2 separate regions of the Homo sapiens genome follow, and region 2 is linked to region 1. The links are contacts of gene promoters, found by promoter capture Hi-C in human tissues and cell types (Jung and others, 2019). All regions are on one chromosome and are shown on one strand. Each heading gives the region's core, a stretch centred on a gene start or on the middle of the fragment in contact. The rest is flanking DNA. Distances are from core to core; before and after follow the strand shown.

Region 1 (4,356 bases), core at 305-2,804:
AGAGATGGCTTTAAACCTGGCAGGAGAATCCTTCCACCACCGCCACCCCCACCCGGTGGCCCCCTCTCCCCCGTCTCGCTCATTTCAAAGCGCGGAAGTTCAGGCATCAATCTCCCCTTCCAGCGAGGGGCGGCACCGAGGACTCAGGGGGAGGAAGTGGGGCTGCGAGGACGCGTTTGGAGAGGGAGCCGGGAGGCCTGGAGGCCGGGAGGGATTCGTGTGCACGGTTTCCCCTCCCGGGCACCAGGCGCAGTCGCTTTAACTCCAGTAACTATGAGAAGTTCAAGTTAGAAGGCAGGTGTTGGGGGAGGGGTGGGGGCTGTCGAACGAGCGGGGGGGCGGGGGAGCAGTGGGGTGCGGGGTCTCTGCGCCCCACCCAGCATCGTCGCCTGCAGCCGCAGCTCCCTTCTGACCCCCTCGGTAGAGCCCCCAGCGGCCCCCCACTCGGGCACCCCCACTTCCCCGGCCCTGGAACTACTTCTGTAAAAAGTCTGAGCCGCCCGCATCTAGGCAGAGGAGGGCAGGGTGGGGGAGGCGAGGCGAAATCGATACGCCAGGTCCTTAACCTGTAATTGCACCTTCCAGGGCTGAGCAGAAAGGGACCCTCTGCTTGCATCCCGCCCGCGCGCCGGCCCGCCGGCCCGCCGGCCCGCCCGCCCGGGGGAGAGCCGCCGCCGCCGCCCGGCTCGGAGGGATCCCGGCGGACCTGCCCCTTCCACTGCGGCTCACTCTGCCCTGCCTGGCGCCGGTCCTGGATCGCCGGCTTCCTATTTATACCGGACTGGGCTCCTTTCGACTCACTTTACCATCCCGTTCCAGGTGGACCCTACCCTCCCTCGCGCTCCCTCCGCCGGCAGCACCCCCACGCCCGCCCCCAAAGCTCTGGCTTGCCTGAAACATCTTACAGAGTCTCTCTCCCTTTAAGAGGACCCGGTCATACCTCTCTCTAGCTCTCTCCGCTTCGTTGTCTCCCCCCGCCCCATCTTTTCCTATTCCCCTTCCTTCTTGTTCTTCTCCCTTGCCTTTCCTCCTCATCTGCTTATTTCTTGCAATAGGAGTTTTTTCTTTATGAGCGTTTGCCATACAACTACCCCCCCGCCAACCCCTCTGAAAGACTCCCTCCCCGGCCCTTCCCCCTCCAACAATCCAAAAGACAGAACAAAATACACACAAGGCAGACACAAGGCCAGAAACTTACCTGTTCTCAACCAGCTGCAAAGTCAAGGCTCACTTAAGCTCCCCCCAAAAATCAATTGTCCTTCCTTTTTAAAGGTTTGCTGTCTCCTTGGGAGGGGGAAAACACCTTCTGGTTCCCAACTCCAGGCAGTCACTCTTTACAATTTATTTTGTCGTACATCATTTGATCACCATGAATTAGCAACAGCAAGAAAATGTAGGAGAGGGAGAAAAGAGAGAAAGAGAGAGGGAGAGAGAGAGGGAGCAGAGCTTTCTGCAAGAGAAGAAGAAGAAAAAATGTACGTGTGACAAATTATGCTACCAAGAAACAACACATCATTATCCTTGGGCCTGGGGCTCAGTGAGTCGTAACGAGAGTAATAGGAAATCCACGGTTGGGGAGAGAAACGGTCGTGCTTGGCCAGTAGAGAGAGACCATACAGGGGGATGGATGCTGGAGAGACTCGCAAAATTATGGCTCAAGGCTATTGTAAAAATTGTCGAGCGTAAATGACTGCGATTTCAAACATCTTTGGAAGAAAGAAGGGGAAAAAGCGAGCCCCCCCTCCCTCCCTCTCCCTCTCTCTCCCTCTCTCTTCTCTCTCTCTATAAAGAACCGTCAAGTTTTAGTGCGCATTGCTAATTAGTCAATTTCTCTCTGCCTTCACAGGCTGGCGACTTCGCTGCTGAGCTGAAACTGCTAATTTCTGTGACCAGCTTTTTTCTTAGCTGTGATCTGGATGAATGAGTAGCTGTCTCACAGAGATGACAAAAATAAACTCTAATCCCCCCCAAAATTTCCACTACATCTTTCTCATGCATAGATTTATGATCTTCAAGTGCTCTGTGCAATATGCAAACTTTTTTTGTGTCTGTATATATGCTGTTGTTTCCAGATTTCACTACATTGGTATGCTGCTTTTCCCTTCCCCCCACACCTCCCCCCCACCCCCAGCACTGTGAAATGCAGAAACAGTCTGATCTCAAAGTATGCTAAGACACTACTTTATTCTGTTTTGGTATTTGGGGTTTGGGTCTGTCCTGAAAGACACTAGCCCTTGCCTAAAAGGTGAGTGGCTGAGGATACACACCGGGGTGGGGGAGTAGAGCTGGTAGACAGAATAGAGGACAGCCCTTTGCTTTACATTTGCTTCCCACAAGGCACTGTTCAAGGTTTATGATCTTATTTGAAAACATATTTTCTCTATCATTTTGTCTGGTTAAACAACTGCCTCTGAACTTCTCTGTCAGCTCTTCAACAGATAAGGGTGCAGAAGTCACGTTTTTTTTTTTTTTTTTTTTTTACTGAAAGATTATCATATTGTTGGATTTGTATTTCAATTAGGAGTCTTTGATTTGCAGGAGCTAGAATCAAGTGCTAGGAAACCCAGCCGCAATTTCACAAATGTAACCTTTCAACTTTAGAGCTCATCTGATATATAAGGGCAACCACATAGTGCTCACATTTTTGACCCTGCTTAGCATGCAAAAGGAACCCCAGCATGTTTCTGGAATTTTAGCTGTACCAGAGATTCATGTGCATTTTGGTAGAGGACATGTTCTCCAGACTTATCTCATGATGTATTGCACCCTTATGTTTATAGCCCTGCATTTCGGTTGTCAATGGGGGTTGGAGGTGTCCAAGAAAGAAAGAAAAAAAAGAAGCAGAAAAAGGAAGGTATGCCCTTGAGTAAAATGAACACGAAGAAAGCTGGACATGAACTAAATTGAGCTTTGTTTGCTATTAACTATATGACTATGATTCATTCTAATTTATATGTGCTCTGATTAGTAAACTTATTAAAATACGTATCAGGGCACCATTGCAAGACATCTATTCAGACCCCCCATCATCCTCTTTGATTTGTGAGAGATGGAAAGACACCTGCTTAGGAAAGGGAGGAAAATTAAAAATTCTGAGGTTCAGAAATAGGGATTCCCCATTTACAATGATAACATTAACGTGCACATGGGATAGTCACACTTAAATGAATTAAGAAGGATCAAACTGAAGCATTTAACCCTCACAAAGCCCCCCCACTTTTTTTGTCAAGGTTCTAGATTATCTGAGAGTAAGACTTCTTTATTCAGATCCTGTTGAGATGCTGCATTCTCATATTTATGTTTATAGTGGAAATGCCCCAATACATGATTAAATCATAGAAAAGAATTTTGCTGTTGTTGTTGTTTAGGGCAGAGGAGAGAAAGACAACAGATTATACAATTCTCCTGGCCCTATTATTGTTTTGATTTTTGTTTAAATTTCCCTTATTTGGGTGTTGAACAGGAAGATCATGTGACTCTAAGATAGAACATTTTTGGAGTTCTGTGTCACTAGCAATTAAAGCTATCAAGTATGTGGAGTGTCACAAAACTCTCATACATGTAAAGTGCAATTTTTATATTATGATTTTGATGTTGATCTTTTATGAACTTCTCATGAAGTATTTGGAACTAAGCCCAAAGGCAATAATAGTATTGATCACTTAAATTATGGCCACCTTCCTGTTTTATCTTGAAAGAATTAAAGTATGTTTGTAGGCCTCAAAATAACTTAGTTTCAAATTTCTATTTTTTTATGGATAGGATATATTGACCACTAATTATGATTACCAGGCTCTTTATTGCTTCCAAACAATATAAAAGCCACATTTCAAAAATTTTAGCTACCTATAATTTTAATGCTTATTTAACAACTAGGGTGGAAAGGGAAGAGAGTGGGATTGGGAGCTGGCAATTCTAAAATGGCTGTTGAAGTGGATAAAAACATTTTCTTCTGCATTCTAAAGTTATCTGATAATGTTTAAATTTCAGAAAAAAATACAATTCTGGTTATTGTATAAGCAATTAAAAAAGAATATTGATAAAGGGTCCCTTCATAATCTGTGCATAAACTAGCATATATGTCATGTAAATCTCACACCTCCAGTATCTTATACTGGCTTTGACTGAAATTATTGCAGAACTCACAAATGAGACGACACTATTTACAATAAATCTCGTTATGAAAGATTCAATTTGCAGCAATCAGATGCTAGCTACTAAGCGATTTTAAGTATTTGAATTTTATCCTACTTCAGTGTTCAACATACAGAAATTGCATCTGTGTGTTTGATCTGTCCTGCTGAGCGCTATCAGCAGCTTGCATCTCTGCCACTATTGTTTTTAAAATGGCAGGAA
Region 2 (4,065 bases), core at 558-3,057, 610 kb before region 1:
ATGATGGGTGGGGGAGGAGAGAAGGGGGTTTCCAAAATGTTGAGGAGGAAGAATGAGCCACGCTTGATATGGCTTAGGTGTGAATATGAAGGACAGGATGAGATCCAGAAAACTCAGGTGTTCCTATTGATGTGCCCAGGTAGTGGGAGGAGCCATTAACAGAGAGAAGCTTGCAGGAGATAGATTTTCCCTAGGAGGAACAAAGTGAATTGGGTTCTAAATGAGTTGATTTTGAGATACGTCCAGCAGGAATTGGATTTTGAATGTGAAGGTTAAGGATAGGAGGTCACCGAAACCATGAGAACAAATTAGGTCACCCAGACTAACATGGAATAATATCTAATAGTTGCTAACATTCACTATAACCCTCCTATGTGTTTATATGTATTAACTTACTTAATTCTCCCAAAACCCTATTCAGGTGATACTTTTACCCCATTTATATAGAAATGAGAGGTTAGAAATAATAAGAGAACTTCCACAATCTCCCTACCCACACACCTACCTACCTATCCACCTCGGTCTGCTGACCTCAAGTGCTTGGTCTTCTATGGATGAAAGTAACTTTTCTCAGAGTGCAACCCCTCCACAGTGGAACAGATCTCATCCTCTCTCACCTCCTAAAATAACATTGCTTCAGCAATTGTCCTCTCCCTCTGTCCTTCATAAAATCCAGCCTCTTTGTGGATCATTCCTATCAGTATACAAACATACTATTATTTCTCCTAGTTTGAACAAAACCAAGACCACAACCACAACCAAAACCCTTGACCCCATTCTGCCTTCCAGCTCATGTTCCATTTTTGTCCTTCCTTTTACACCTCAAAAGAATTGTCTGTACTCATCGTCTCTAACTTCTCTGTTTCATTCTCATGTGAACTCATGCTGGTATGGCTTTTATGGCTTCTAGTCTGCCTAAATTGTCCTTAACAAGGTAGCCAAAGACCTCCATTTTGGTAAATCCAACAAACAGCTCTCAGTTCTTGTCTAATTTGACCTGTCTGCAGCATCCTGACTCAGCTGATCACCTCCTCCTTCTTCTGTCACTGGAGTCAGAGGCTACTAAGCTCTTGGTTCTTCTCCTACCTCTCTGCTCAGTCCCTTAGTTTCTTTTGCTTGTTTCTCCTCATGTCCCTGAACTTTTAGTGGAGACCAGTCCTTGTACCTTCTCTTCTCTGTTCATGCCTTGGTGATCTCATCCAATCTTGTGGCATTAAATATTTCTCATTGCATGCGGTTACTCCCAAATTGGTATCTTTAGCCTGTACTTACCTCTTCATAGATCCAACTGTCATTTCCAATTTGGTGTCTAAGAGAAAATTCAAACTTAGTTTGTCGAAACTGAACTCCTGACCTCCTCCTATCCCATCCAAGCTTAGTTGTCCTTATGCTTTTCCAGGTTTATTTAATAGCAACTTTATTGGTATAGTTGCTTAGCTCTAAAACTTGGATTCAGCTTAGATTCCTCTTTTTTTTTTTTTTGAGACAGAGTCTCGCTCTGTCACCCAGGCTAGAGTGCAGTGGCAAAATCTTGGCTCACAGCAAGCTCCGCCTCCCGGGTTCACACCATTCTCCTGCCTCAGCCTCTTGAGTAGCTGGGACTACAGGTGCCCACCACCACGCCAGGCTAATTTTTTGTATTTTTAGTAGAGATGGGGTTTCACTGTGTTAGCCAGGATGGTCTCGATCTCCTGACCTCGTGATCCACCCGCCTCGGCCTCCCAAAGTGCTGAGATTACAGGCGTGAGCCACCGTGCCCGGCCTGGATTCCTCTTTTTCTTTGATACTACACATCCAGTTCAAATTTCCATGGACTTCACCTTCAAAATATTCCTGGGATCTGACCTCTCTGTACCATCCCCACTGTGGCTCCCGTGGTCTAAGCTGTCCTCAGTTCCCCTGTGGATTTCTGCAATAACCTCATAATCTGCATTTGTCAATCTTTCAGTGTATTCCCAATAGAGCCGCCAGAATAATCCTGCTAAGACTCATTTGATCTTGTTATTCCCCTGCTCGAAAATCATCCAGTGGATCCTTATGCCACAGTGAGTAGGAGCCAAAGTCTTGGAATGTCCTACAAGCCCTTCCCTCTCTCTACTGCACTCAAACAAATTGACCTCCCCTCTTGCTACTCTCTTCATTTGCTCCCTCCAGCCACACTGTTATCCCTGCTGCTGTTTGAACATGTTGGTTGTGTTCACAACTCAAGGCCTTGTATTTGCCATCTCCTATGGCTGGAACTCTCTTCCCATAAAAATCCCCAGAGCTTGCCCCCTCACTTCCTTCATATCATTACTCAGATGTCACCTCCTTGTTAAATCCTTCCCTGACAATCCTATTGAATATTTCTACCCTTCCCCCGACACTCTTTATTCCCTCTCTTAACCATGGTGGATGAATATTGTGCTAACTTAGCTGAGCTGGAGTTATCATTCCCAGATTCTCTTCCCTGGAGAGCTCTGAAGTCACATGGGCCACAGATATGTGTCTCACATGCTTAGAAGGCAGAATTGAAGGAACCACCATCTTGTTTTACACTTAGAAGACTAGTGCAGCTCAGTGCATTGTTGCTACCTGTTGGCTCGCCTGATTGGCACAGGGCAGTGGCTGGACCCTTGACCACTCCTCTAGCTCTAGCTGGATCTTCCTTTAGTTTTTCAGACTGTTAGGTGAGAGATGTGTTTAGCTCCATGGTGAAGGAGGCCAGCTTCTCCCTCAATACGCCTCCTCCCACCCTCCATATCACCAAAATTGGAGGCTTAGAGACGGTGAGAGAGCCATAAGAAGTCCAGTCAATCCTCTTGGTTTACAGCTCAGCTGTGTAGGTTCCATCTTGCTTCCCTTACTTCATTACCATCTTCCTTTTTTTTTTTGGAGATGGAGTCTAGCTCTGTCGCCCAGGCTGGAGTGCAGTGGCGCGATCTCGGCTCACTGCAGGCTCCACCTCCCGGGTTCACGCCATTCTCCTGCCTCAGCCTCCCGAGTAGCTGGGATTACAGGCACCCGCCACTATGCCTGGCTAGTTTTTTGTATTTTTAGTAGTGACGGGGTTTCACCATGTTAGCTGGGATGGTCTCGATCTCCTGACCTCGTGATCCACCCGTCTTGGCCTCCCAAAGTGTTGGGATTACAGGCGTGAGCCACCGCGCCCAGCCCATCTTCCTTTCTTGACTACCTGCCCTATTGATTTCAGGCACTAGTGCCTGACACAGAAGCAATAGCCTCCATATAGACTGTTTAACCAGCCCCCACATTTGCATGTAGGCAAATCCCTACAATAAGTCCTTATAATAAGCCATTACACATGTTTATGTTTGTGGTATGCGGATAAATGTTTAACAACCAGCTTTCTGGAAAAAGAAAAAAAAAACCCTAATTTGTAGCATTTGCCAATTTTCCTGGTATAAATATTCTTACCATGGCCAATTTCAAGCCACCAATGTGACATCACTGAATGGGGAGAAGAGAGAAGATGCTGATAGCTCTCTCAGGCCAGTACTAGCCAGCTCCAGCCCACCACTGTGAATACCTCTTAATGGTCTTGTTTCTCTGGTCAAATCCTAATAAACCTATTTTTTCCCCCACATCTCTTAGCACCTTCTCCCATGCTCTATATTTTAGTTATCTGTGTCCTACTTTGAAATGTAAATTCTATCAAGGCAGGGATTTTTGCCTGTTTTGCTGTATCCTTGGCTCTCAGAAAAGATTTTTTTTTGCCCTTTTATGTAATCATAAAATTAAGTTTATCAAGTAAATTTGATCTCAAAAAATGAGTATGTAGAGTAGCTCCTTTATGGTAGCCTCTATATATATTAAAATTGTTTATTATATTTATTTATTTTTTGAGACAGACTCTCATTCTCTCACCCAGGCTGGAGTGCAAATAGTGCCATCTCAGGTCACTGCAACTCCCACCTCCTCAGTTCAAGCAATTCTCATGCCTCGGCCTCCCAAGTAGCTGGGATTACAGGTGTGTGCCACTGGCTAATTTTGTATTTTTAGTAGAGATGGGATTTCACCATGTTGGCCAGGCTGGTTTTGAACTCCTGGCCTCAAGTGATCCAC

What was found. Contacts are between HindIII fragments. The study calls those that stand out against the background at their distance.
Region 2: a contact is called between a fragment that was not itself captured here and the fragment with the promoter of KLHL14 in region 1, in 1 of the 25 tissues and cell types used here (dorsolateral prefrontal cortex).

The regions. Positions count from the first base shown.
Region 1 is chr18:32,771,469-32,775,824 of GRCh38, forward strand. It overlaps KLHL14 (kelch like family member 14), which reads right to left and starts at 1,555. Exons shown (of 9, transcript NM_020805.3): 1 at 1,199-1,555. LOC105372055 (a long non-coding RNA gene) reads left to right here. Exons shown (of 2, transcript XR_935342.4): 1 at 1-819; 2 at 1,847-1,973. The HindIII fragment of the contact is 6,474 bases long and covers 1-2,376 here.
Region 2 is chr18:32,163,854-32,167,918 of GRCh38, forward strand. No RefSeq gene overlaps it. Among named protein-coding and RNA genes, the nearest start is that of MEP1B, 24 kb to the right of the region's middle. The HindIII fragment of the contact is 5,135 bases long and covers 1-4,065 here.